Linked DNA regions of Homo sapiens: all the other regions are linked to region 1. Evidence: promoter capture Hi-C in 16 types of primary human blood cells and fetal thymus (Javierre and others, 2016). All regions are on one chromosome and are shown on one strand. Each heading gives the region's core, a stretch centred on a gene start or on the middle of the fragment in contact. The rest is flanking DNA. Distances are from core to core; before and after follow the strand shown.

The links. The method cuts DNA at HindIII sites, captures the fragments that hold promoters and counts their contacts. A CHiCAGO score of 5 or more calls a contact.
Region 2: a contact is called between the fragment with the promoter of NSD3 here and the fragment with the promoter of MAK16 in region 1, in 1 of 17 cell types (fetal thymus). The highest score is 5.6, in fetal thymus.
Region 3: a contact is called between a fragment that was not itself captured here and the fragment with the promoter of MAK16 in region 1, in 1 of 17 cell types (naive CD4 T cells). The highest score is 5.7, in naive CD4 T cells.
Region 4: a contact is called between the fragment with the promoter of BRF2 here and the fragment with the promoter of MAK16 in region 1, in 1 of 17 cell types (erythroblasts). The highest score is 6.0, in erythroblasts.
Region 5: a contact is called between a fragment that was not itself captured here and the fragment with the promoter of MAK16 in region 1, in 1 of 17 cell types (erythroblasts). The highest score is 6.2, in erythroblasts.
Region 6: a contact is called between a fragment that was not itself captured here and the fragment with the promoter of MAK16 in region 1, in 4 of 17 cell types (activated CD4 T cells, naive CD8 T cells, erythroblasts and 1 more). The highest score is 9.3, in activated CD4 T cells.
Region 7: the fragment with the promoter of ERLIN2 here is called in contact with the fragment with the promoter of MAK16 in region 1 in 5 of 17 cell types (naive CD8 T cells, naive CD4 T cells, activated CD4 T cells and 2 more); the score reaches 10.8 in naive CD8 T cells.

What each region holds. Positions count from the first base shown.
Region 1 is chr8:33,483,482-33,487,480 of GRCh38, reverse strand. MAK16 (MAK16 homolog) reads right to left here and starts at 2,299. Exons shown (of 10, transcript NM_032509.4): 1 at 2,260-2,299. The coding sequence starts at 2,274. RefSeq lists silencers at 2,292-2,479, 2,690-2,879 and enhancers at 2,370-2,519, 2,507-3,143. The HindIII fragment of the contact is 3,746 bases long and covers 404-3,999 here.
Region 2 is chr8:38,380,456-38,384,454 of GRCh38, reverse strand. NSD3 (nuclear receptor binding SET domain protein 3) reads left to right here and starts at 2,184. Exons shown (of 24, transcript NM_023034.2): 1 at 2,184-2,656. It also overlaps a transcript of LETM2 not described here. RefSeq lists silencers at 1,278-1,627, 1,818-1,967, 1,998-2,397 and enhancers at 2,046-2,836, 3,127-3,661. The HindIII fragment of the contact is 5,398 bases long and covers 1-3,999 here.
Region 3 is chr8:28,885,065-28,889,063 of GRCh38, reverse strand. The region is part of intron 1 of INTS9 (integrator complex subunit 9); the gene reads left to right. Among named protein-coding and RNA genes, the nearest start is that of INTS9, 2.9 kb to the left of the region's middle. The HindIII fragment of the contact is 4,325 bases long and covers 38-3,999 here.
Region 4 is chr8:37,847,590-37,851,588 of GRCh38, reverse strand. BRF2 (BRF2 general transcription factor IIIB subunit) reads left to right here and starts at 1,728. Exons shown (of 4, transcript NM_018310.4): 1 at 1,728-1,959; 2 at 2,934-2,993. The coding sequence starts at 1,806. RefSeq lists enhancers at 1,523-1,872, 1,913-2,052. The HindIII fragment of the contact is 8,285 bases long and covers 1-3,999 here.
Region 5 is chr8:37,778,631-37,782,629 of GRCh38, reverse strand. PLPBP (pyridoxal phosphate binding protein) reads right to left here. Exons shown (of 8, transcript NM_007198.4): 8 at 2,862-3,999. Among named protein-coding and RNA genes, the nearest start is that of ADGRA2, 16 kb to the left of the region's middle. RefSeq lists enhancers at 501-1,700, 1,641-2,141. The HindIII fragment of the contact is 3,237 bases long and covers 1,131-3,999 here.
Region 6 is chr8:37,758,530-37,762,528 of GRCh38, reverse strand. It overlaps LOC124901934 (a long non-coding RNA gene), which reads left to right. Exons shown (of 2, transcript XR_007060889.1): 2 at 1-3,999. Among named protein-coding and RNA genes, the nearest start is that of PLPBP, 2.1 kb to the left of the region's middle. RefSeq lists enhancers at 1-118, 1-155, 256-335 and a silencer at 1-196. The HindIII fragment of the contact is 2,312 bases long and covers 502-2,813 here.
Region 7 is chr8:37,734,716-37,738,714 of GRCh38, reverse strand. ERLIN2 (ER lipid raft associated 2) reads right to left here and starts at 2,081. Exons shown (of 12, transcript NM_007175.8): 1 at 2,037-2,081; 2 at 686-807. The coding sequence starts at 792. It overlaps LOC102723701 (a long non-coding RNA gene), which reads left to right and starts at 1,289. Exons shown (of 2, transcript NR_125821.1): 1 at 1,289-1,336; 2 at 1,917-3,954. RefSeq lists enhancers at 727-1,519, 1,999-2,208. The HindIII fragment of the contact is 8,102 bases long and covers 1-3,999 here.

The DNA of each region.
Region 1 (3,999 bases), core at 1,050-3,549:
GCACTCCAGCCTGGGCGACAGAGTGAGAATCCATCTCCAAAAAAAAAAAAAAGGCTTCATGGTATTAGATTTTTAGATATACATACCATAATTTTATCTCATTGAGGGCAAAGAAAACTATCTACTGCTATCCTCCTGTACTTAATGTGCTCTTTATTCATTCAGCATTATATACTTAATTTATGTAAGGCACTGACATCTCCAAGTCCTGACACACAGTAGCCACTTAAGTATTTGCTGAATGAAAGAAAGTATACTCTTTAAAGAGTTTCGTCTATCTAGTTAGGGGAAAGATATGTAAACAAAGTATCACAAAATAGCAGGTCTAAAGGCCACATAGCATGCGTAAGAGTATGACAGCCTTTGAGTGCGCTGCCTTGAGGAACTGGGGTAAAAAAAAGCTTTACCACTGTTAAAGGAAAAATATGAAGAGGGCAAAAGAATAAAACACACTTTAAGAATTTTATAGGTGTGTCTGGTGGGGGATGGTAGGAAACAGGTAAGAAGAATAAGGGAGCTCTTTTAGGCTTGTGGCTTTAAGTATCATCTCTAAATGGATGACTCCTAAATTGTTATTTTCTGGTCAGACTTCTTTCCTGAGCACCAGATTTTTATATGACATCTCTTCAATATCTAAAAGGCAACATAAATATTAACATATCCACAAGGAGTTCTCAATTCCACATCCCTCGTAAGAACAGTCTTCCCTAGAGTTCCCCCACTTCAATAAATAAAATCACCATTTAACTATGTATTTATATCCCAAATCCTTTGATTTCTTCCTTTTCTTCTTCACTTAATCCATCACCAAAGTCTTGTCAATTATACTGACGTAAAAGGTCTCAAATTCATCAATTTCTTTTCATCTCCACCATTAAATTACTACCTTAGGCGAAGCCACTTTCGTTTTTAAAAAAATTTATTTACTTTAGAGATAGGGTCTCTCTGTCACCCAGGCTGGAGTGCAGTGGTGCCATCATAGCTCACTGCAGCCTCGGACTTTTCGGCTCAAGTAGTCCTTCTGCCTCAGCCTTCGAAGTAACTGGGACCTCAGGCGAACACCACCGCGCCCAGCTAATTTTTTATTTTTTGTAGAGATGGAGTCTCACTTTATTGCCTAGGCTGGAATCGAACTCCTGGCCTCAAGCGATCCTCCAGCCCCAGCCTCCCAAAGCGTTGGGATTACAGGCATGAGCCACTGTGTCTGGCTTGAAGCAACCTTTGTCATACCCTAGTCTCCTTGCTTTCATTTTTTCCCTCCAAAAGTCCTTCACACAGCAACTAGACAACTTTTCACAAACATAGATCATTAAAAGGCCTAAAAAACACTTCCTACAAGATTCTGCATGACCTCGCCCTGGCAAGCATATCTAATTTCATTACCTGTCTTACATTGTCACTTTGATGACCCTTATATTCATTCTCTCATATCTTCAACTCTTTGTACTTTACTGTTCCTACTGCCTGGATTGCTTTTTCCTCAGCTCCTCAGTGACTGGCTTATTCTTATCTTTTAGATCTCAACTCAAACATCTTCTGTTCAGAGAAACCTTCCCTGAGTAACCCTATCTGAAGTGTCCTTCATCATCTCTGGTCTTTCTTTCATAGTATGATTATATAGTGTAATTGTTAACTTATTTGTTCACTTGTTTACTGTGTCTCCCCCATCAGTGTTCCAGGAGAGGTGGGACATTTTTTCTGGTTAACCAAATCCTCAATAATTACCACAATGCCTGGCACACTGTAAGCACACTGTTATTTCTCCAACAAAAAACTCAATGAATGAATCTAGGATACTTCCGAAATTATGACTTAGGCAGAAGTAGAGCAAATGTAAAGAAAAGCCTACACAGGAAACGCAGATGGAAGAGTAACGCGCACATGGATGAGAAGGACGCTTAAACTTGGAGTCAGCTTCGCCAAATCCCGGGCCGCCCCCCACCCCAAGTCCGGAGCTGACAGCTGACAGCTGACAGCATGACGCGACGTCCTGCATTGGTAGGCACGAAGGACGGGACACATCGACCCCATGGGCTGAGGTGACGGAGTCCTGTGCTCACAACCCGGCCGGGGCAGCGGGCAGTAAACCCCTGCTAGACACGCGTGAGAACCTATGTTGGAAAATCGGGGTTCCGGAAGCCTCACATCCAGAGCGGCACGAGGCAACAGACCCGCTGCGTACGCGTTTTCTAAGTGTCCGAAAATGGGCAAAATTCCCTGCGCAAACCCCGGGTGTAAGAACAACCGGAGGAGACTCACATCATCCGACTGCATGGTGTCCGCGGCTCAGCGTGCAACTTCCGGTCGGATCGCGGGCGCAGACATGCTCCTTCCGGGAAACCAGTTCCGGAACGCGCAGCCTCACCTATCTCGAGAAACGCTGAGACTCTCGGTGTTGCGAAGCGTCCCCTGGCAGTCTCGTCGCCGCGCGCGCGCCCCCGCGTCTTCACCACGCTGGCGTCTGCGCGCGCCCGTCCGCAATGCTGGGCTTGTTCATGGGCGCAGCCTGGAGCTGGGAACCCTGTTGGGACCCAGTGCGATCCGCGGGAGGCAGGACGCGCGCAGTCTGCCGAATCCTGGAGCGCGGGGACCGCGGGGGTCGGGCGTGCTTCCCTAGCGCCCTGTTTGTGACCGTTCATGAGGATGGGACCCCTCCCTGTCGGGCCTCCCCTCTGCTGGGAGGAGGCTGGGGAAAGCTGCAGGCGGCGCGGCGGGGCTGGGTCCCCGCTCCTCCGAGTCCCCCGGCCCCAGCTCGCAGCCAGGCCCCGGCCCTGCCCCTCAGACCCTGACTTAGCCACTCCCCACGCCCACGTTGGGTGCGGCACCGGGTCCTGACTTTAGAAACTCAGAACTTGAATTCCTCCTGCTTTGAGAAACCACTGACCAAATGGAAAGAGCATTCCAATAATAATAAACACCTGTGTCTTCCTCATTGCCTATTTGAGACAACAAACAAAGTTGATAAGGGAGGGAAAATACCAAGAAGAAAAGTAGAGGTCTAATAACCCACAAAAACAAATCTGGAAGCCTAACAGCTCTTTTCCGCCAGGGGAAAAAGAAAATCTTTACTAGTTTGTATCGTATTATAGAAGAAAGACTGTCGGCCGGGCCGGGCGCGGTGGCTCTCGCCTGTACCTCAGCACTTTGGGCGGCCTAGGCGGGCGAGTTCCAGACCAGCCTGGCCAACATAGTGAAATCCCGTCTCTACTAAAAATACAAAAATTAGTCGGGCGTGGTAGCAGGTGCCTGTAATCCCAGCTACTTGGGAGGCTGAGGCAGGAGAATCGCTTGAACCCGGGAGGCGGAGGTTGCAGTGAGCCGAGATCATGCTGTGGCCCTCCAGCCTGGGTGACAACCAAAACTACCTCTCAAAAAAAAAAAAAGAAAAAGAAAAAAGAAAAGGAAAGAAAGACTGTCAAGAGGCATTTGAACCAGAGCAACCCCATCTTGAATAGTGGCTGGGTAAAATAAGGCTGAGATCTGCTAGGCTGCATTCCCGAGGGTCAGGCCATCTAAATCACAGGATGAGGTCAGCACAAAATACAGGTCATAAGGATGTTGCTGATAAAACAGATTGCAGTAAAGAAGCCAGTCAAGACCCACAAAACCAAGATGGCAATGAGTTTGACCTCTGGTCGTCCTCACTGCTACACTCCCACTGGCGCCACAAATGCCATGGCAACATCAGGAAATTACTCTATATGGTCTAAAAAGGAGAGGCGTAAGTAATCCGCTCCGTGTTTAGCATATAATCAATAAATAGGCTGGGCTTGGTGGCTCACGCCTGTAATCAGCATTTTGGGAGGCCGAGGCAGGTGGATCACCCGAGGTCAGAAGTTCAAGACCAGACGGGCCAACGTGGTGAAACCCCATCTCTACTAAAAATACAAAACTTAACCAGGCGTGGTGGTGGGCACCTGTAGTCCCCGCTACTTGGGAGGCTGAGGCAGGAGAATCACTTGAATCTGGGAGGCAGAGATTACAGTGAGCTGAGATCAA
Region 2 (3,999 bases), core at 935-3,434, 4.9 Mb before region 1:
GATGTTAGATACTGAAAATGTAAACTATTATTTTTAATGGCCATTTTCCTAAATATGCCACCAGATCAAGTATACTAACTGTATTTTGTAATGTTTTGCAGGAAAAGACTATGCATCTACTTCACATAACTCCAATTTTAAACTCTTGCTGTCAGCATAGCTATTAGAAACAGGCTAATATAAGATCCCTGGGGACAATTTACTAGATTCTCCTCAAGGGAGAAACCCAGGTGCCGGGTCAAGGCAACAGTTTATCAACAAAGCAAGGAAGACACAGGAGGAAGAAAAAGAAGAATGGAGGTAGAAAGGCTCATAGAAAAAAAAAAAAGACCAATTTAATCCCTCTTTCCTGGAGATAGAATTAAGCTAGACTTGGTGGCCCGCTTTGGCCATCTGTGTTTTAAAATGTCATATCACAAATAAAAAGTATGCTTTTACTGATAGCTGTAACTTGTGGTACTACTTAAAGCATACGTTTAAAAATATTTAATGATTAATAGTAATGAGATTTTTTTTTTTTTTTTTGAGACATAGCCTCTCTGTGTCGCCCAGGCTGGAGTGCAGTGGCGCGATCTCGGCTCACTGCAAGCTCCGCTTCCCGGGTTCACGCCATTCTCCTGCCTCAGCCTCCTGAGTAGCTGGGACTACAGGCGCCCCCCACCACGCCCGGCTAATTTTTTGTATTTTTAGTAGAGACGGGGTTTCACCGTCTTAGCCAGGATGGTCTCGATTTCCGGACCTCGTGATCCGCCTGCCTCGGCCTCCCAAAGTGCTGGGATTACAGGCGTGAGCCACTGCGCCCAGCCAATACTGATAATTCTCAGTATCTAGTATTAACCGGGTTACGTTTAAAAAAAATAGTTCATAATTAGTGCCCTTTTAAATAACTGATCTGTAGAAATCATTTAATTTCCTTAAGTGATATTTAAAGATAGAGATATCTAATTTCTTGTAATAGTACCAAAGACATCCAGCACTATAACGTCTACAGAGTATGACGTCTAGCGGTAAAATGGCTTTATTCTCAGAACAGAGTATCGGTTTCCTCATTTGCTTGCTGCCTCTGTTTCCTTTTTACGTTCACGTCTCTGTGCTGTAACCTTCCAAATCCTTATCACCAGGCCCCAGGAAATATCACCTGGTCGGCACACTCCTGCAGGGCCAGATCACTGTGCACACACTTAACCTTCCATTGTTTTCCATACGTTTCCTAGGATGCGGGGGGCTAGAGGATGACGGAGAGTTGCCTCCCGGTTCTTCCTCTCGTTCTTATCTTGGGCCCTCTAGGACAAATGTCCCTCACGTCCCTCGATGCGAAGGTCTGGCCGCGAGCAGCCGCGGCCTCCGGCACGTGACGGTCACGGAGCCGTCGCGGTCCCCCGCGGCTGGGGGGCACCCGGGGATGCGGCGGGCGCTGACGTCGTCCTCCCGGTTACCCACAAGCCTCCGGGCCGCAGCAGAGCAGGAAGAGGCGCGCGGGGCCGGCGCCTGCCGGGGAGGTCGAGGCGCTCCCTCGGCGAGCCGGCGCCGCCGGCCGGGTCTCCTACTGCTTGCAACCGGGGGAGGGGGACCATCCGACAGCTCAGCCGGGGCTGAGAGGGAGACGACGCCAAGGCGGTCTTGCATCGCCCCCGGCTTTCCAAATGCAGACCCTACCGGAACCGGAGCCCTTCCCTGACAGCCGTAGGACGGGAGACGGCCGAGGGGTCGCCTGGACTGCCCCGCCCTCGCGCGGTGACCCACCGGGGACCGTGCGAGGGTCGCTTCTAACCCTTAAGAGCTAGAGAGCCGAGTCACCCTGAGGAGCGCCGTATGGCGCTGGTTGCGCGTTGTTCTTTAATCAGCCTCACTGAACGCGCCGATCCCAGTTTTACCTCCCGGGCCCCACCTTTCCACGCCTCCTCCGGCTTCCCGGGGTGTTTTGTGTGTCACTCTCCCACGTACAGTCCCTCCCCGTCCCTCGTTCCTCGGCCCTCTCGCCCGGTCTCCCTAGTCGTCCAGACGCTAGCTGCCGCGGGCGTTCCTGGTTCGCGCTCCCGCCCCCTCCGCCCCGCCGACTCGCCGCTTCCTCCGGAGCCCCAGCGTCCCGAACCAGGGACTGCATTTCCCGGCAGGCGCCGCGGCCCGCGGCCAATGAGGGGCTGAGGATTTGGCGGCGGCGGCGCCCCGAGAGTCGGGGTGGGGGGGCTTTGTGCGCGGCGGCGGCGGGAGAGGCGGCGGCGGCGGCCAGCACGGAGGCGGAGGCCGAGGGGGCTGTGCACAGGTCGCCGCGGAGAGGCGTGCGAATTCCGAGCCGAGCGCCGAGGACCGTGCTACCCAGGCCGGGCTGCCAGCCGCAGGCTCCTCTCTGGCAGCAGCGGCGGCGCGGCGACCCCCGTCCCTCGGCCTCCCCTTCCCATCCCACCTCCCGAGCCTTCCTCTTCCCGCAGCACGCCCGGCCCGGCCCGGCCGTGGCCCTCCTCAGTGCCGGCCGCCATGGCAGAGGCGTCCGGCGCGGGGAAAATCTAGCCCGGGGATTTCATGCGGCCTAGCTCGGTTCCGCCTCCTCCTCGCGCGGCCCCAGCGGCTGCCCGCACCCCAGCCCCACTCCGGGCCTCCGTGTCTCTCCTGTGATCGCACTGACACGGCCGGGGGGTTAGAATGGAACAAACTGAAGGTAAAGTGCGTGTGCGTGTGTGTATGTGTGTGTGTGTGTGTGTGTGTGTGTGCGCGCGCGCGCGTGTGTAGTGCTAGGAAGGGCTGAGGAGGGAACGACGGGGAGGGGGCGACCTAGGGATGGAGCGCCAGACCCCAGGAGGAATGGAAGGGGAAGCGGGTGGCCTGAAAGGGCTCGAGGGGAGTCCTGACGGAGGAGCAGATGGCAAGGTGGGGGGTGTGGAGGGAATTGGGGGGTGGGCCAGGGGAGGTGGGGAGTGGGATGGGAGTCGGAGTGGCGCTGAGCTGGGAATTGGGAAAGTGGGATGGGGGCGGGGATAAGGATGGATCGGGGAGGGGCAGGGAAAGGGGAGAAGAGTTGCATGGAGATTACAGACCTGGGTGGACTGATAAATAGGGAGATTTGGGGATGGAGTGTAGGAACCAGAAGAGTCTGGGAGAAGGGGATAAATTTGCTGGAGAAATGGGGCATTTTATGGGAATGAAGGGAGAAATGAGGAATGGAAGTGAAGGAAAAGGTGGATTAGGAAAGGGGATGAGGCAGGCTGCAATAGGAGAATGGGAAATAGACGCAGGAAACTGGAAGACAGGATTGGGCTAGGGAAGGAAATTAACTGAATGATGACAGGGATGAGAACGATCGACTTAGCGTCAGAGTGGGAGGAAGAGAAGGGGATGGAGGTCGTTAAAGTGTTAGGAAGGGAGGCCTTTTGTTCCTGTATTTGTGTGTATTCTGTGTCTTTCTTTCAAGGCTAGAGAATAGAGAAGCTGGTGGTTATGGGATTGTGATTGTTGTGAAATGGGGAGGTGTGGGTTTTACTGTTTTGAGGGAGAAGGCGATGTGTTTGTGTTATGGAAGGGAGGCAGGGAGAGACATGGCCATAATTTGATGGTTTTGGGGAGGGAGTGAAGATTATTTCGATTTAAAGGGGGCAGGGGCAGCCATGTTTGCTGCCAAGGCACTGCAGTGTAAATAAATTCCTTTTCCTCTCCGACATCAGTATGAATCTGGAAGGGGCCAATTCAGACTGTTAGCCCCCTTTCTTTCTATTCATGAACTCTTTTCCCCTTACGTCTTGGGTCATTTTAAATTATTCATAACCGCCAAAGGAGGTAGTGATGTTTTCCATCACTACCTTTTTGATGCTTTTCTCCCTCTCTTTACCCTCTTCCTTCTGGTTGCAAACAAGGTATGCTAATGAGCTGCAGTGTAAATTTAACCCATTTAATCAATTTAAAACTAGATTTTTACTAGCTGAAGGAATCATTACTACGCTTACATATCAAACATGATCGTGAAGTCTTTTACGTATTGAAAATTCGTTTGTTTCGGAAGCCTCAGAA
Region 3 (3,999 bases), core at 951-3,450, 4.6 Mb after region 1:
AAAACCCATATTTGTGCAGCCAAGTTATTGTCAAGCTTTACTTGAGGCAGGAGAATCGCTTGAACCCGGGAGGCAGAGGTTGCAGTAAGCCAAGATCGCGCCACTGCACTCCAGCCTTGCAACAGCGCGAGACTCTGTCTCAAAAAAAAAAAAAGTTTATTTTTTACCATTTATATAATTATCTGAACATGCTTTGCCAAACCACACAACACACCTACCCTCATCTTGATAATCATTGTGCTACAGGCATATATTCTGCAAAGCCAGCTGTTTTCTGCGAAGTCAGAGAAAGTATTAAAAGTGGATTCAATTCCGAAATTGTCCCCGTATAAATCTGTTTATATAAGGGGAAGGATGCGGGTCACTAAACCTTGAGAATAGCAACTTACCCCTGGGTCAGTGTGTTACACATTTAATAATGCAGAATTAAAAGTCATAGCCGTTGCCCTACAGAAGCATGCAACCTAAGAAGAAGATAGAAAAGTAAACCAAAGTTATTATTTATTTATTTAGAGACAGGGTCTGGCTTTGTGGGGCCCAGACTGAAGTGCAGTGGCGCGTTCTCAGCTCGCTGCTACCTCCACCTTTCGGACTCAAGCGATCCTCTCGCCGCGTCAGTCTCCCCATATAGCTGGGAATACAGGCGCGCACCACTGCACCCTGCTTATTTTTTTTGTAGAAATGGGGTTTAACCATGTTGCCCAGGCTGGTCTCAAACTCCTGGGTTCAAGGTATCTGCCCACCTCAACCTTCCAAAGTGCTGGAATTACAGGCATGAGCCACCATGCCTGGTCCGAAATTATAATTCACTGTGTTCATGGTGAAATAGAGGCGTGTTCAGGGTTTTGGGAATTCAGAGAACAGAGGATTGGGGAGGTCAGGGGACAGCTTCCTGGAAACGTGACTCTTGAACTGATAAGGATAAGTAAGCCAGGGCCTTCCATGAAAGAGGTCAGCTTATAGGAGCATAAGAGCTTGGTACCTTATTGGCTAAAGCATGGACCCTGTGTTCTCAATAAAGAGCAAATTATATTTAATGTGTTCAGTTTAAGAAGGCAGGGAAGTGTGAAATAGTTTTTCCCATAACAACTCATTAGTGAGGGTATCAAAAAGCCAGGGTTTACTTTACATATATTTTAGTTTGCTCATAAAATCCTCCTGCTTAATTTATTTAGAAATATGAAACCGGGGATTGTAAAAAAGTGGAAAATTATTTTTTCCATTAAGAACCAAAGATGTCTCAGAGGAAAAGGAAGTATTCTATTGATACTCATACTCCCTCTTTACTTTGCAACTATGTATTACATACTAAAATTTATTTGGTAGTTGATAGATAAATGTAATTGAGAATTCCCATCAACATACCAAAAGCATTGTTGCTCAGTAAGTTAGATGGGTGTGTCATGCCTCCCAAATGGTTGGAATAAGTCCTCCCATGGCCTAAAAGTTTTAATTTTGTGTACTGCTTCAGAAATATGTAATAGGCTGTGTTTTAAATTTATAATTATGAAACAAAAACACATTTTGTTTAGCATTTTCTCATTTTTGAGATTCACTTTCCAGAGTACCCTTCCCACACACAATCTATGACCACCTCTTATTGATTCTGCTTCCTAAATGCAGCTTTCTTAAATAGGTTCTATTTCTCTCCAGTCCAACTAGAATACTGTCTTTGTAATCGGAATTCAACAAGACCCCTTATCTGGTCTCTCTGCATTCAGTCTTAACCCTCTCAAATTCATTCTTTCCTCTGCATCCGGAAGTTGTTTTAATTGCAGAGTTCCATGAAACCCTCTCAGTATCTTCCTTTGCCCTTAGGATAACCTCCTACACTTAACTTGGTTGAATATGTTCCATTGCCTGCCTCACTCTTTTTTGCCTGGCTAATTTCTTCATATATTTCAGATCTCTGTCTAAATAACACTTCTTCAGGGCCTCGTTGAATTAAGTACCCCTGTTATATATTTGATGGCATACTTCCTATTTGTAGCACTTGTAATTATTGGCGTGTGTCTGTCCTCCCCCATGTAGATTCTGTGTAAATAATTGGTAAATAATTTCTGAAGGTTTATCAAGGTCTATGGATACCCTTGAGAAAAGATTAAAGAGTGAAATTAAAGAGATTACAATAAGCAGTAACCATTGAAGTAAAAAAGGAATGATAGCTACCTTTTATAAAGCAATTATTGTGTGCCAGGCAATGTGCTAAGTATTTGCTATGTAGTTTCCCATTTAATCCTTTGATCCAGGTGACAGTATTCCCATTTTACAGACAAAAAATGTGAGCTTCAGGGAGGTGAAGTAAGTGGCTTAAAGTTAGCATGGATTAAAAATGATAGAGCCAAGATCGAAACCCAGGTTTCCCTGTTATTTAGTGAGGGTAGGAACTCTAGCACCCTGCACCATGCCTAGGTTATCTCTTAAAAAAAAAGAAGGTAGAGTGCATACAGAAAATATATTCAAGGCTATTTTTAAAAATTAGCTTTAAATGCAAGTGTGGTTCAATTAAGATCTTCAGGCCAGGTGCAGTGGTTCATGACTGTAATCCCAGCACTTTGGGAGGCGGAGGCAGGCAGATGGCTTGAGATCAGGAGTTCTAGACCAGCCTGAGCAACATGGCAAAACCTGTCTTTACAAAAGATACAAAAACTAGCTGAGCGTCGTGGCATGTGCCTGTAGTCCCAGCTACTTGAGGGGCTGAGGCAGGAGGATCACTTGCGCCTAGAAGGTTGAGGCTGGAGTGAGCTGTGATGGCACCACTGCATTACAACCTGGGTGACAAAATGAGACCCTATCTCAAAAACAAAAAACAAAAAAAAGTTTTTAAGGTTATTGGTTAAAAAAAAATTTTTTTTAAGTTTGAGGACTTTCTTGATGAGCTAAAGGCCCCCATATCAGAGCATACTAATTTGGTGCTGAAGTTAGTATTTTTTATCTTCCAAATTTAGCTCCTGTGATACCATTTATAATTCTCTAACTTTGCACATCACCCTCTTGGTGGCTTTTCACACACCCACATGAAAACAATGGATGCCATTATAACGTAATACTTGGGTATCTCCTTCTTAGATACCAACTCAGAGGATTTCAGTGGCTTTCCGTATTTATAATATGCAATATTCAGGCAGCTTTATTTAACTGAAGAAAACTCATTGGCATTTTCAGTTAACCAGAATCATTTTAGAAAGCAGAGGAAAATTAGAAATATATCTTTTAAATTAGCACATTTTAGAGCATGTTCTGTTATTTGTATAGATTGAGCCTAACTGAGTACGCTGATGGCCAGTTCAGCTAAGGATAGAAACTGGAATTCACAAAGGTCCTTACCGAAAGAACATGGAACAAAAAATTCTGAGCACGTTGACAGAAATTAAGTTTGAAACATCATGGCCAGGAACCCAGTCATTTAAATAGATGAAGAGTCAAGCGAATAAAATAATCCAAAGCAGTTCAAGAATGCAGCCTGTGTGTTGTACTTCCTACAGATAGTACCTGAGATGGAGAGAATCTTCTGGCTTATTCAGTCAACAAAGATTTTTTATGCAACCACAGTATACCCTTGGCATTCACAATTTTAACGCTTTCCATTTTAACCATTACATTTGACCCCTGTGACATGGAATTATTTATAATTTTGCTGAGACACAAATTTGAATGTGACTTTAAGATTAATGTTAATCCTTTGGGAGGGGCCTGAGTGCCTCAGAATCCATGGCGCTCTGCAGAGGCCGGCTTGTTAAAAGTCTTAAAGGAAGGTCATTTAAATGCTTGTTATACTATACTTATTAAATTTGAAGGAGAAAATTACATGCTGTAGTTGTGTTTACAAATTTTAAAACTTGAGAAGGCCACGAAATACATTCTTCAGTGGTCTTTGCTCCTTTGTTCAAAATGCTGTTTCATTTCTACTGGCTCAAACTTTTAACTTGCCATTTCTCCTGGGAAAACAGATGGAGCAAAGAAATGAATTCATGGACTGCTCCCAGTGGAAGACAAGTA
Region 4 (3,999 bases), core at 479-2,978, 4.4 Mb before region 1:
CCAGCCTGTGTGTGCCCGAGGACCAGGCTCTCCTAGGCTCCCAGTAAGTACATCATGTGTGACTGGGAAAGACAACCAGCTTTCTCCTTCCGTGGCTGGCTGCAGGATCATAAAACTGCTTTTCCACTTTACAATCAATCAGGTTGGGTCAGGCAGGATTTCAAGGCTTCTGTCCTAGGTAGATGGGCTCTGTAAAGTCCCGCTTAAAAAAAAAGTGAAGGTAGGTTCAAGATCTGCACACAACTGGGGATGAGGGGAGTCTGATGCTCTGCTGTGTGATCATGCAAGGAACTGTTCCCAGTGCAAGTTATGTCGCTTTCAGGGACACTTTCTTCATCCAAATAAGAATGTCAACCACACTAAAACTAATGGATGTCTCTGAGTGGTGTGTGTGTGCGGGTGCGCATGTGCAAATGTATCTTAATATTTAACTGTCAGACAGCCAGAAATAAGCTCTCATCCTGTATCTCACGCTAGTGGGGAGGTCTAGAAAAGGCGGGGGGGCTTGGACTGCCGGATCCCACCCACGATTAATGTGCTGAAGCCCCCTTCTGTTATGATACTAAAGTAATTCAAATTGAAGAGAAAGGACCGTTGGGTATTATTGTGTCTCTTGGCCCTCCAATGTGAGCGATCCCCATGGGAATGGACGGGATGTCTCTGAAAAGGAGTAGTGATTCTCACACTCTGAGAAAGCAGTCTCTTAGGGAAGGGATGGTGTCTTTAGGTTTGGATATCACGTGTAAAAACTGGGTGTGGAAAAGAAGGGAGTGACACTTCTTAAAGGTATGTTTTATTTTGTTTGAGATGGAGTCTCGCTCTGCCACCCAGGCTGGAGTGCAGTGGCGCGATCTTGGCTCACTGCGCCTCCTGCGCCTCCTGGGTTCAAGCGATTCTCCTGCCTCAGCCTCCTGAGTAGCTGGGATTAGAGACGTGCACCACCACGCCCAGCTAATTTTTGTGTATTTTTAGTAGAGACGGGATTTCACCATGTTGCCCAGGCTGGTCTCAAACTCCCGAGCTCAGGTGATCCACCTGCCTCGGCCTTCCAAAGTGCTGGGATTACAGGCGTGAGCCACCACGCCCAGATAGCTCAAGGTTTTTTAAAAAACATCTGAATCTGCGTGCTTGCGCCGCTCCAGGTCTCCATCACTCCATATTCTTTCACTCCAAACTCCTTTAGACATTCCTGCCTGGCCTCCAAAAGCGTTTGGGTTTGCATCTCTGGATTTTTTTTTCAACTTCCTCATTTTACAGTTGAGAAAAACAGGAGGTAAAGAGAGGAAGGAATCTGCTTTAGGAAGCAGCTCTGGAAAGCAGAACACAGTTTCCTGCTCCCGCTCTCTCTCCACTACTCTCCCTTTAAAAAATATACTTTCTTCTATGGCCAATTAAACATTCATTACCAACCTGCGATTCCCTTAGGACTTTAAAAGGAGGGTTGTTCAGGGGTGACAACAATCTTCTGTCTGTTATACGTGTCCATGTAGGCAAAAACTTTCCCAAATTCAACCCCAGTCTAGGTCCCAAAAACTAACTACAGAGTGCAGGGAAACCAGACAGCTACAGTTCAGCCCAGGAACCTCCTCTCCTAGCTCACGTTTCTACCCGAGCCCGCGGAGGCACAGACCGGAAGTGGCGCGCAGCCTCCCAGCGGAGGGAACCGCCTATGCCTCCGTCGCGCTGGCCGGAAGACGGGGGTGCAACCCTTTGAAGTGTCCCCTCCTACTTCTTGCTGCCTCACGGTTGCTGTTGCAGACCCAGGAGTCTCTGAAGGCTTCCGCGGCTTTGGGGCCGGTTGTGAGATGCCAGGCAGAGGCCGCTGCCCGGACTGCGGCTCCACGGAGCTGGTGGAAGACTCGCACTATTCGCAGAGCCAGCTGGTGTGCTCCGACTGCGGCTGCGTGGTCACCGAGGGGGTCCTTACCACTACCTTCAGCGACGAGGGCAATCTCCGAGGTACTTGTGGCCCTGGGGACAGCCTGGGGCGGTGGAGGGATTAACATCAGATTCCTTTTGCCTCCCCGCTCCCCCCATACTCCTAACTGTAACGCACACACTTAATTTGAGAGAAAATGACCTAAAGTGAGCGAGGGAGCTGAAGGAGATGGGGGCTGCCATTCATCTGTGTTTTCCCAGCACTTAGTATCGGGCATAGATGGTGCGTGTAATAAATATTGAATAAGTGAGACAGAAACAAAAGTTCCACTCATCTTGCCATGTCTGGTCATTGTGGAAGGATTGCCGATACGATTATAGCAGGTATTATTACCCTGAAATAGTTTTAAGCACAAACTGGCAAAACATCACTTTTCTTTGCTTTCCAAGTTTCTGACCAGTGCAGCCCTCAAAATCTGCAGCCATTGTCTGGGTGGGGTGGCTTACGCCTGTAATCCCAGTGCTTTGGGAGGCAGAGCCGAGAGGATTGCTTGAGCCCAGGATCTCGAGACCAGCCTTGGTAACGTAACGAGACAAGTGCCTAAAAAAATTTTTTTTTAATTAGCCAGGTATGGTGGCATACACCTGTAATCCCAGCTACCCAGGAATCTGAGGTAGGAGGATTGCTTGAGCCTGGAAGTTGAAGGCTGCCGTGAGCTGTGATCGCACCACTGTGCTCCAGCCTGGACTATAGAGGGAAACTCCTTAAACAAACAACAACAAAATCTGCTGCTAGGAAAATTGCCTGTATGGAATGTACTGGAAGGATGACTGGAAATTTGGAACACTTGGAGCTGCTTTAATGCAGTCCTAACCTTTCCCAGTCTCTGTGTATTCGGAACCTCTTGTAGACATAGAAAACCAGATGGGGCCTTTAACTGTGCAGCAGCAGATGCTCAATGATTTGAATTTTGCGTCCTGGTTTTGTGTGGTGGGAGGGCAGGGGTCTGATGAATAAAGGCTAAGCACACTATTTGTTGTTTATTATCTTACAGAGGTAACATATTCCCGAAGCACAGGGGAAAACGAACAAGTTAGTCGCAGCCAGCAACGAGGTGAGAATTGACCTTTTACAACACAGTGGCTTTAAAGAAAACTATCCTAGGCCAGGTGCTGTGGCTCACGCCTGTAATCCCAGCACTTTGGGAGGCCTAGGCAGGTGGATCACCTGAGGTCAGGAGTTCAAGACCAGCCTGGCAAACATAGCGAAACCCCGTCTCTACTAAAAATACAAAAATTAGCTGGGCATGGTGGCATGTACCTGTAGTCCCAGCTACTTGGCAGGCTGAGGCAGGAGAATCGCTTGAACCTGGGAGGTGGAGGTTGCAGTGAGCTGAGATCGCGCCACTGCACTCCAGCCTGGGTGACAGAGTGAGACTCCATCTCAAAAAAATAATAATGAGCCGGGCGCGGTGGCTCATGCCTGTAATCCCAGCACTTTGGGAGGCCGAGGCGGGCGGATCACGAGGTCAGGAGATTGAGACCATCCTGGTTAACACGATGAAACCCCATCTCTACTAAAAATACAAAAAAATTAGCCGGGCGTGATGGTGGGTGCCTGTAGTCCCAGCTACTCGGGAGGCTGAGGCAGGAGAATGGCGTGAACCCGGGAGGCGGAGCTTGCAGTGAGCCGAGATCGCACCACAGCACTCCGGCCTGGGTGACAGAGCGAGACTCTGTCTCAAAAAATAATAATAATAATAATAATAATAATAATAATAAAAGAAAACTATCCTGGTGGCCTAGCCCAGCTTTTCACTTTTCCTATTTTCAGCATTGCTGGTGTGAGGTAGAGTAGAAGAGAATGGTAATTAGGAATTTAAAATGGGGATGGTGGCTCACACCTGTAATCCCAGACTTTGGGAGGCCGAGACGGGCAGATCGCTTGAGGTCAGGAGTTCAAGACCAGCCTGGCCAACATGGTGAAACCCCGTCTCTACTAAAAATACAAAAATTAGCTGGGCCTGGTGGTGCACACCTGTAATCCCAGCTACTCGGGAGGCTGAGGCAGGAGAATCACTTAAACCTGGAAGGAGGAGGTTTCAGTGAGCCAAGATGGCG
Region 5 (3,999 bases), core at 1,500-3,999, 4.3 Mb before region 1:
TCGCACATCAACCCTTTCCTGGGCCCCTGCCTGTCCTTGTCCAATCCCAGGGCAAATGTAACTCCACATGTGGCCTGCTATGAAGGAGTGCCCTCCCCTGAGGTGCTCACATCTCTCTTCTTCCCTCCCAAATAGGTTTTTAAGTGACTTTGCTGTCAGAAGATGCTATTCTGTTTGTTTTTCCTCTGACACTATCTCTCCAGAGAGTTTCTGGTCAAGAGAATTATGTGGAGGCTGCAGATTGCAAGAGAATTGCGCCTAATAGGGAACAGACAGACAAGACACCTTTCATGTCTAGCCAAGTTTCTTTTCCCCTCCTCTTTCTCTCTCTCTCCCACTTCTCATCTTCCCTTTTTGGCTTCAAAGTTGGCCTTCGTTTGTGCTTGTTTCTTCCGTACATCTGGTGAATAAGGTCACACATTGATTTTATTTTGGAGATTGGCAGCCGGGTCAGGCTTAGCTCTGAGGCTGGAGAGCGGTAAGGCTGCTAGGAGGGCGGGTGCTGGAGACGCTAGCCTGGAATAGCATGGAGGTAGCAGGCGGTGTCTCCAGGCAGCTGGTGCAGATGGGACCATTCGAGAAGGCACTCCGGCACTCAGAGTGGCCTCTGCTCCCTGTGATCTCAAGGCTCAGGAGTGTGGGCTTGTAAAATTTATTCTAAATACAAGAAAAGTGCCAAAAGCCCCTCCTGCTGTCCCCACTGTGTGCCGTTTCAGCTGCTCTGTGCTGCACTTTAAAGGAAAAAAAAAAGTGTTAGCTCTGCGGTCCCTTGAGGCTTCAACGTGATTATAGAAGAGGAACTTAAGTTTAAGGACCCTTACCTTGCAAGTAGCTGCTTAACCACACAGAGCCATAGTTTACACACGTTGGTGCAAACTGGGTGGAAAAGGAAGCCCTTTTCTTTACCTATGTGTTCCTTGAGGGGAGGACAGATTAGTAAAACATTTTGGTAGACAGTCTGGATTCTTTTGTCCTTAGTCATGAGGCTGATGTAATAGCATTCAACTAATTTCATGGTAAAGACAGTCACAGTTCCCAGAGAAATCCTTTCCCCTTGCACCACTGGTGACATTCCACTCCTACTGCAGCCCTTCAGGAATTGGTAAGCGAGTACTTCCTCCTTCAAAGCTTTGGTGGGATGCACACGACCACTTCTTTTCTGAAGGATGAAGATGTCCTGGATTTTAAGAATGTCCTGTCTGACCTCATTCCTGTGTGTCTAGCCTTGGGGAACAGAATTCACTGCTGGTCCAGCTTCAGGGGGAAGGCACAGGGTTGCACACTCTGGGCCCTGCAGCCTGTGAGATTAGCTTGAATCATGAGGAATGAGCTTGGGAGGGAGATGGGATGACGAGAGGGGAGGCCAATCCCACTCATGGCTGGGTTTAATGCTCTCCTTCCTTCTCACCCCCACTGCCTGTGGTTTCAAAGTTTGTTCTGCATTAAGATGCGTCAATTCTCAGCTGTTCCACTGGAATAGAAACACACACACTTATTTTATGGTAATAAGGCTCGTTTAAATGAAAGCTGCACATCTAAGAATATGCCACTTATCAATTATTAAAGGTAGAGATAGAAGATACCAGTGTGGAGTAGTGACCATGTTCTGGGCCAGAAAGTCAAGTCCTGAGTTTATTTCTCGTCCTGCCACAACTCACTCTGACCTCAGACAAGGAGAACACGGAACCTTCTCTGGGCCCCAGTGCCCCGTCCACAAAGGGACATTGCCTATCAGCCTACACAAGTCTACCAGCTGTTGTGATGGTGAAATGAGAGAATATAGAGAATAGTGCTGCATATGCCATCAATGTTAAACAAAAGGTGGGGGGTACCATTTGAGTATTAAGAGGTTGCTTTAAGAACTGTGATAGAATCTGTGAGGAGCTCCCCAAGAGATCAAAGTCTTGATGGACTATTGGGAGGTTTTGTGGCGTCTCAAGCCTTCTGAGGCTGGCTTCAGGGCAGACAAGGGCCCAGCGCCTTCAGAGACTGTGAGGCTGCACAGGTGGGCCCAATCCAGGAGAGCAAGCCGTCCAAACTCCAGGAACTGGCTTTCATGAAAATCTGGAAGAAACCCAACCTGCCACCCATCATGCGTAACGAAAGACAAACTCACAACCTGGCTCAATTTTCTCTCTGCAAAATATCCCATCCTGCTGGGGACACCCTAGACACACTTTGGTGTCCTTCCCTTATCTAGATCTGATTGAGCCTTCCCTGGCTTTCCTCCTTATTCGCTGTTTTTGTTTTGTTTTGAGATGGGGTCTCACCTTGTCACCCAAGCTGCAGTGCAGTGGTGCGATCTCAGCTCACCGTGACTTCTTCCTCCCAGGCTCAAGCGATCCTCCCACCTCAGCCTCTGGAGTAGCTGGGTCCACAGGCATGTGCCACCATGCCCAGCTAATTTTTGGGCGGGGTATTTTTGGTACAGACAAGATTTCACCGTGTTGCCCAGGCTAGCTGGTATCGAACCCCTGAGGCTCTGCAAGTCACACTATCACTTGAGAGCGTCATGTCCTCTCTGGCCTCCACCAGACTGAGTAACCAGGAGTCCCTCATAAGGTAAACTACTGACAGTGGAGAGCCAGTGCTTGTCCCTCAGGTTAGCCAATGTCGCCATCTAGAGGCAATTCAAAAGTCTCTTGCAGTGAGGGGTAACTATTTTTGTAATTCTTGAAATGTCCTTTTTCTTGCCCTTAGAAGTTCAGAATCCCTCTCACCCATGGTGTAGCTTTGGCTGCGTCTGTGACCCCAGGGAAGCCCTCCTCCAAAGCCAGGCTGGCACAATGCCAAGGCACCAGCATAGCTGCTTCCCGTCGGTTCCAATGCCCCCACCTGTTATATTCAGTCACTACACCAGATCATAAAAAATAAATCTTTTAATTGCTTTGTAATTGGCACAGATGGTGTAATTCAAACTCACATTTTTATTTAATAGACTCTGAAATATCACACTGTAGCTCTCACTGAAATAATACAGGAATCATAATGTTTAAGTTTACAAAAGTACATTTGGCAGCATCATGATGTTTTGAAAGTTACCTGTAAAATCAAAGACTGGGGCTTCAAAAAATAAGAGAAAAAGCCATCTGGAAAATAAAAAACAAGCCATACTGAAGCCATTTGTCATGACTATTAGAGAATGGTGTTTTTGGGTTTTTTGAGGATCTTGCTACTTTATTAATGATCCAGAAGAGTTGCACAATTCTGGCTTGTAAATACAGTGGGGAAGCTGTAACTATGCCTGGAAAGTGCTCCTCAGGACAAGGAATGTCAAAGCCAGGCTTTGTTGAAACCATGTGCCTGAAAAGGCTTTGAAGGAATCTTTCGTTTCTTAGGAGTAATGAGATTCACTGGGTTTTGATTTAAAAAATCACCCTAAAGAGGATTATAGTGGAGGAGATAATCATTAAATTCTCATCACTGTAGGTCCCAGAGGAAAAACGCAAAGTCCTGTCTCTTCAGGATGATGTCAGAAAGGCCCAAGTCCTCCTTATGTTATCCTTTAATTTCAGGGATAAAACAGAGTGGCAGTGACACAAGCTCTCACTACCAAATTAATTTTTTTTTTAAGAGACAGGCTGTCTCTAAAAAAGTTGGGGGGTATTATCTGCATATTAAAAGGTTGCTTTAAGAAATGTGACAGCATCTATGAAGAACTTCCCAAGAGATCAAAGCCTTCATGGACTATTGGGATTTTTTTTTTTTTTTTAAGGCAGGAGTACAGTGGTGCAATCATAGCTCACTGCAGCCTCAAACTCCTGGGCTCAAGTGATTCTTCCATTCTTCCACCTCAGCCACCATGCCCAGTTAATTTTTAAATTTTTTTGTAGAGACGGGGGGTGGGGCTCCTGCTGTTGCTGAGGCTGGTCTTGAACTCCTAGGCTCAGGTGATCCTTCCGCCTCTGTCTCCCAAATTGCTGGGATTACAGGCATGAGTCACCATGCCTGGCCAGCAACAATTTGTGTTTTGAGAATTAACCTGAGCCATTTCCTGAA
Region 6 (3,999 bases), core at 408-2,907, 4.3 Mb before region 1:
GTGCAGCGTGGAGGCCCGCCCCCAGGCGGCGGCCATCTTGGGGAGGTCACCCGCGAACCTGGAAATGGAGCCTAGGGGCTGAGGTTTTGCGCGCCTGGTTCCAAGGGCCACTCCCCGTGTGCTCTCCTCTTTCCTGCGCCTCAGCCGCTGCCGTCCCCCCACCCCCAAGGGACTTTTGTGAGGCAGAAACGCATCCTATACTCGGGGGATCCTGTTTCCTTTCAAAACGCCTTTCCAGGCTTGCCCGTTCCCGGCTTTCTGGGCGCGGGGACCAGAATTAGAAGCCACTGGGGCGGGAGCCAGGGCTTTTCTCTGTCAGATGGTTCTTGCGAGGAACCCCTAAGCGATACGAAAGGAAACTCTTCTTTCTTCTTTTCCCTAAAGACATGGCGTGATTCAAACGTATCGTGATTTTTGTCATCTTTCAGACCACTGCTGTCCAAGAGAAATATAACGCCATCCAACTGTGTAATTTGGAAGTTTCTCATAGGCACATAAGCTTAAAAATTTTAATGATATACTTTATTTAATCCAATATATCCAAAGTAAGATTTCAACATGCAATCAATAGAAAAACTAAATGCGATATTTTAATTCTTTTGAAAATCGTATGTGTTTCTGAAACCCGGTGTAGTGTTGACTTGCATATGTCTCAATTCGGGCCATCCCTATTTCGAGAGGTTAGCGGCCACCTGCGGCCAGTGCTGTCTCATCAGGGGACACAGGCAGCATGATTATTACTATTATTATTATTGAGACAGTCTCGCTCTGTCACCCAGGCTGGAGTGCGGTGGCCCGATCTGGGCTCACTGCAACCTCCACCTCCCGGGTTCAAGCGATTCTCCTGCCTCAGCCTCCCCAGTAGCTGGGACTACAGGTGCGAGCCACCGCGCCCAGCCCACAGGCAGCTTTAGATGGTCTAGCAGGAGCTCAGCACATTCAGTTAGATTCTTTTTTTGAGATGGGGTCTCGCTATGTTGCCCAGATTATCTGGGACTCGTGGGCCCAAGCAATCCTCCCACCTCCGCCTCACAGAATAGCTGGGACTACAAACGGGCACCACAACGCCCTGAGTTTGATTCTTGAGTCCCCTTCTGTGGGCAATATGGTTATAAACTTGATGAGGAGCCAGGCCATACAAATAATAATACAGAATGCTACATAGTCAGGTGGTGAAATAGTAGGTGCTACGGGCAAGGAGAAGGAGATCAATTTTGTTAAGGAAAGCACTCTTGGCTGCAATTTCTGTTGAAAGTTTCTCAAACATTAATTCAACTTAATGAAGTGGGATGCTATTATATTAGAGAAATGGCTAATGTTTGTTCTTCAGGTGGTCTTGTCTTGAGGTGATGGGGTTTATTAGAGCTTTCCGGAAAGAAGGGGCAATATTCTTACTCTCTCCTCTCACAGTTTTTCCCCAGACTCCCAGGAACAGAGATGGAATTTCACATCTTCTGCTCTGGGAAAGTCACATTAGGCAGAACCTCAGATCCTTAAAATAAGGGACTTCTTTTTGGGAAGTCTCTGGTCATTTACCCTGGTACACATTAACTGGGTTATCTGCAAACTAGGACTGCCAACATTAGGAGTAATTGTGTTCAGATAAAATGTCTCTAGACTTGATACATCTGTACTCCAACCAAAATGATAAAAAAATTTAAAATGACCAGAATGGCCCTTTGTGGTGTGAGCATAATAGATGCTTGCTGTAGAGACACAGGTGGGAAGGAGCGAGCCAGCAGTGAGTGATGGGGAGGACAGAGGGGATCATGGTGATGGGATGTGTAGAGGAAGGATTGGGTGAGATGAAACACTTCAAATAATGTGCTATTTGGAAAACATTTTAAAACCATAAATACCTCACAGATCTAGGGAATGTATAATCCAGGTGTTACGTCACTATGACAACAAGTAGTTGTAGCTTCATTTACTAGATTGGGCCTCTATTCTTTTTTGTGTTTTTTGAGACGAAGTCTTGCTCTGTCACTCAAGCTGGAGTGCAGTGACGCGATCTCGGCTCACTGCAACCTCTGCCTCCTGGGTGCAAGTGATTCTCCTGCCTGAGCCTCCCGAGTAGCTGGGACTACAGGCGTGCATCACCACGCCCGCCTAATTTTTGTATTTTTAGTACAGATGGGGTTTCACTATGTTAGCCAGGTTGGTCTCGAACTCCTGACCTTGTGATCCACCCGCCTCGGCCTCCCAAAGTGCTGGGATTACAGTCGTGGGCCACCGTGCCCAGCCAGGGACCTCTATTCTTTGAACTACAAGGCAAGGTCATCCTCCCACCCCCTTATCCATTCAGTGAACATTTACTGAGGCGTTACTCTGTAAAGAACCCTGAGAGAGACCAGGCTGAGTAAGACAGGCTTTACTGCCGATTTACTTCCAATATGCTCGCTTTTCATCTCTGACATTCTGTGGTCTTATGAAAATGGAAATGGAGACAAAAAGATCATGGTGCCCCCAGTCCCATGGTCATTTCACATTCCAATTTCTTCTTAGTTGTACTTTTGAATTAATTTTATTTCACTTTGTCCCTTTTTTTCCTTATTTGCTTTTTTAATTTCTTCTCTTCCTCTTCCTGGGACATCAACCATCCAATTTAACCTTTCATCCTCCCCTACTACCTAATCCTTGAAAAATACAAGTCCAAAATCATTTCATCACCAGTAATTGTCTTTAAATTGCTCCAATAATTTGCAAGGACCAAGGGGAAAAGAGAAAGATTAAAAAGCCAAATGCCCAGAGAAACAGATTTTATAAATAATCTAAAATCTAGTATACTTATTCACCATCAATGCCATCAAGCTTTTAAAACACCCTCATAGTCTGGAATAAATCCAAATTATGAGAAAAACATATATGGATTTAAAAATTGTTTCCTTCTGAGCCTACTGTGAGTCTTTTAGGGGGATAAAAAAGTAAAAAGTAAAATAGAAAATTACTGTTGCCTGGTTACTTAGCTCTAAAGAGAAACGGAGAAATAATGCCCATGTCCCATCCCAGTTTAAATGAATTCAGGTAGAGTAGCCCATGACAGCAAGCCCTTGGCACACATGCCATCACATCTGGCCTTTGAAATGTCTATAGAGATAGTAGAACCCTAGACCTAGGGAAGACTTAGGGAGGTTTCATACAGAAAGAATGACATTTAAACCATCCCAAACAGCACAGAGTCTTCACAATTTCTGAAGACCATCAGAGAAGAATATTTATTTTCTATTTGCAAGTAACTACTCCTCCCCATTTGAAAATTTAGCAAGCCTGATCTTAAGTAAATTCTTTACAAATCCTCCTTTATTCAAGTGAATTTCCTCTTTTTAGCTACCAGTATGTAACTTTTATAATCGTGAAGTCATTAAATGTCCCTTCTGCCTTTTCTGGCATCAACCTATGAGCTTTATTTCTTAATTACTTTTTTTTTCTTTTTGGTTTTAACATTTTCTTTCTAGCTTCTTCAAATTTTTTTCATTTTTAAAATTGGAGACCAGAACTGGACAGTTCCTCTCAACAGGGCCAAATCAGATTCTTTTCTTTTTTTTGGAGATAGAGTTTTGCTCTTGTTGCCCAGGCTGGAGTGCAGTGGCGTGATTTTGGCTCACTGCATCCTCTACCTCCCAGGTTCAAGTGATTCTCCTGCCTTAGCCTCCCAAGTAGCTGGGATTTCAGGCATGCACCACCATGCCCGGTTAATTTTCTATTTTTAGTCGAGATGGGGTTTCTCTATGTTGGTCAGGCTGGTCTTGAACTCCCGACCTCAGGTGATCCACCCACCTCAGCCTCCCAAAGTGCTAGGATTACAGGTGTGAACCACCGTGCCTGGCTTCTTTTCTTTTCTTTTCTTTCTTTAAACCAGGTTATTTTCTACACAACATTTTTGTAGAGGTATGTATCCTCAATACTGTGTTTGCTGCATTGCAATGTCATTCCCTTCTTCTATGTGCTATCCCATTTGTAATCTTATTCCATTTTTTTTCACGTGTTTGGCTTTCTACT
Region 7 (3,999 bases), core at 832-3,331, 4.3 Mb before region 1:
GGGCTCTCACTATGTTGCTCAGGCTGGTCTCAATCTCCTGGGCTCAGGTGATCCTCCCATCTAAGCCTCCTGAGTAGCTAGGACTACGTGTGTGTGACACCACAGCCGGCCAATTAAAATTTTATTTTTTATTTTATTTTTTTAGAGATAGGGTCTCACTATGTGACCCAGGCTGGCTGAAATGTTAATTTTAAAAGAGCATCCCAAATTAGCAGAGTAGGCTACCTTCTCAAGTTGCCATCAAGAACTGGTACTCAGCTGGCTTTTGTAAAGGTAACCTAGCAGTGTAGAGCTAAGACTGCCAGAGGGATGTAGAGCTAAGACTGCCAGAGGGATGTAGAGCTAAGACTGCCAGAGGAATGTAGGAGAAAACAGTATTTTAGGGATGATCAATGAGGAGCACCAGTTTCCTTTAGATTTTGTCTCTAAATCTATATACACATTTATTAATCACCACCCATGGCATCATCTTGGACTACTAAGTGAAGTTCTAAATTTACATATATATGTGTGTGTGTGTATTCTCTTTCCCGTGGTTACTGACATAAAAAGCTCCATCTGAAAAGGCTCCCCTATTCAAGGAAATATAAATAGAGATGTTCAGCAGAATCTGCTAGGAAAGCAATGACCAGGAAAGGGAGCTATTTAACAGGAAGTTGCCGGCTTCTCCCTGTCTCTGCCTTACCTGTAATATACCCCAATATGTCCCTCTTCTATCTTGTGCACAGCTGAGAAGAGAGATGCACAAAAGAAACTGGAAGCCACAGCCACAACTGCTCCCAACTGAGCCATCAGTGAGCCTTTATCCTAGGGAAAAGACACGGGAAAATGTGTGTGGTCCAACGTGCAGGAGAAAAGGCCACAACAGCGAGAGGACCTCACCAAGCTGAGCTCCCTGCGAGTGACTCATATCCAGCCTGGTGTCGTGTGAACACAAGGCTAGATCTACAACTCGCTTCCTCCTCGTTCTCAGTCAACGTTCCCCTTTCTTTAACTGTAAAATTAGAGCCCCCACCGCACTGAGGAAGCACTGGCTCCGGATACAGCCGTTGCTCAAGGGAGAACCCGTGCCAGCTGGGTAGGGTTCAGAACACAGCCTTGTCTTCCTGTGAACACGAATGTGCTGTCACTGAACCTTTCCTACCAGTAGTAGGGAAGAGAGGCAGCTGCAGTACTTTGGCCCAAATTACAGAGGATGCCAAATGACAGGCAGTTGTGGCTATGTAATTCTGGTCAGAGTCTCCCACTCCTAATTGCCTGCAGTTTCAAAGGAAACCATTATTTACTCCTTTCAGATGCTGGAGTGGCAGAGCCAGCAGGCGAGCAGAGTTTCAAGGTAGGATTCGTTGGCCTCGCATCCACCTTCCCAGTTATTCCTTTGGCCCTAAACAGGACAGGGCTCTGAACAAGCCTGAAGCCACACTCCCCCCCATATACTTTGGCACTTTGCACCTGACAGATCCCCAAGCCCGTGGTCAGAGAGAAAGGCAATGTCCCAAACTGCGAGCCTCTAGGCTCCTAGGTCCAACCGCGTTCAGGCACCAGGACGCGGAGGAGTGGGATCCTGAACGCTGAATGATCTGGAACTATGGTGACTGACTGCAAAGTTCAGCTGTGCGTGCGTGGGCCCGTGAGCGCAGGGCGTGGATTCTGCCTCCCAGGTCTAACGTAACCGGGGCGCGGACATCTGCGAGGCGCTTATTTTACCGTGGCGGCCTCCGGCTACCGATCTGCAGTTGCGTCCTTTCCTGCCAGTGCCCTTCCCTCCCCGAGGTCACTCGCGCCCCTTCCCCGCCCCGTTCCGAGAGAGGGTCAAGCGCCCTGGTCTGGGGCTGCGGCTCCAATAGCCTCCGCTCGGTCCCCCTGCGGCTCGCAAGGAGAGGACGCGACAGAAAAGGGTTTCTGTCTCTCTCCAGGAGCGGGCCGGCTGAGGGAGAGAAGCTGCTGGGACTGAGGTTCCCGAAAGTGACGGGTCAGCCCCGACCCTGAGCGGCAGCTAGGCCCAGCGCGCGCACGAAGGGGCGGGGGCCGCGTACCAGGCTGTCCCTGCAGGCGCTCCGTACTCGTCCGAGCCCACGAGCAAGAAAACCGTCACACCCCTCAGCACGCGACTTCCTTCCGGGCCGTCGCTTCGATGACGCCATCAATTCACGCGAGAAGACCACACCCCCGCCCCGCGCTCGCTCTGCGCCCCGCCCCTCGCGCTCCCAGCGGTCAATGGCCGTAGCTGGCCGCCAGGGATCGCCCGCGACTTGGTCGGTGCGGTCCTGGACCTCGGTCTTGGGTATCCGTCCTGGGGCTGGGGATGAGGGCGGTGTTGGTGGGAGCTCCCCGAGAGCGAGCGGCAGGACGCGCATGCCCCGGAGTACTGAGACCCAGGGCGAACCTTTCCAAGGCGTTGACTTTGGGGATTGCTCCGGATTTCCTTCTGCATTAGGCCGAACCTGGTTCGTTTTGGTTTTTTTAGAGACAAGGTCTCGCTCTTTTGCCCAGGCTGGAGTGCAGTGGCACGATCATAGCTCACTACAGCCTCGAACTCCTGGGCTTAAGCGATCCTCCCACCTCACCCTGCTGAGTAGCTGGGACCACAGGCGCACGCCACGACACTTGACAATTTTATTTTTAGTAAAGACAGGGTCTTGGTATTTCTGGTCTCAAACTCTGGCTTCAAGCAATCCTCCTGCCTCGGCCTCCCAAACTGCTGGGATTACAGGCATGAGCCACCATGCGCGGCCTTTTTTTTTTTCTCTCCTTGATAAGGTACTGGCGAGTTGCAACTGTTTGCTTTCCTATAGCACAGCTGAAATGAAACAGTCTTTTCAATGTACAGATTAGCATCATTACCTCACCAATCAAAAATCCCTACCTTGAGTTGTTCTTTATATTTTTCTGGGAGCTTTGGCCCTTGGGATCCTGCAACGCCACAAAGTATATTAACAAGGAATTATTATTCTAATTTTAATGAACGGAATCTAAGAAGTTCAGCGAGGTTCAAGGGTAAAAGCCAAGGAAAGTTTCCTTTGTGTTTCCTTAATATCTTGAGTTCACTGCTTTTTAAACTCCTGCCACAGTGCACAGGGGCTAGTGCACTTCGTCTTTCTAGATAAACTGTACGTTCCCGGGAGAGCAGAGACTGACTTTCCTTCCGCACCCCCGGGGCTTAGGTGCCCAGTAAAAACAGACTGAAGGCAACGTGGGACCAGGCCCGGAATCCAGAGTTTGTGTCTCCTAGTCTAAGGGCCTCACGTTGTCCTCCACCTGCCCTATTCACCAGCATCACATTGGGGCATTTCTAATTCAGCCACTGAGGTTATTAATATTTTGTTTGCAGGAGAGAAAGAGTCCACTTAATTATAGCCTTCAGTAAAAGAAAAACTTTTACACCGGGAAGATGGCAAGCTGGTGGTGTTAGACAGATTTAAGACTCAGGAAAAGGGAAGTGTGGTTTTTTCCAGGCATGCCTGCTTGGGATTGGCCCGTTTACCTTTCCTGCGTTTGCTCTGGGTGTTGGGATGTTTCAGCATTACATGGTGAAACCCATACGAGGGTTACATGGTGCTGTCTGGGAGCTCTGTGCCCATCTCCATAAATGAAGGCCTTTCATCTCCCTACTCTGTCCCTGCATCCCCCACCCCAAACAGACACAGCTGGCCAATCTCTCGATCAATCCTATCAGAACTTGAGTTTTTTCTCTCCCTGTTCAGTGATATAACCTCAGCTGGGCATGCTTATTTAATAGTTTATTTAATAATTGAGTAAGAAAAATGGAAATATTAGGGTTCATCAACCCATGAAATGGGGGCTAGCCTGCAGCATCAAGTATTTAAATTACTTGTAATTTAAGAATTTCCTTTAACCAACCTCTGGCAACCCGTCTCCCCTCCCCTTCCCACAAATATGTATATTATTATGTGTCAATTAAAAATAATAAAAACACAAAAATTTCCTCACATTAAACTTTGGAGTGAATTGTGGCTAGAAGTTTTGGGATTTTGTTCT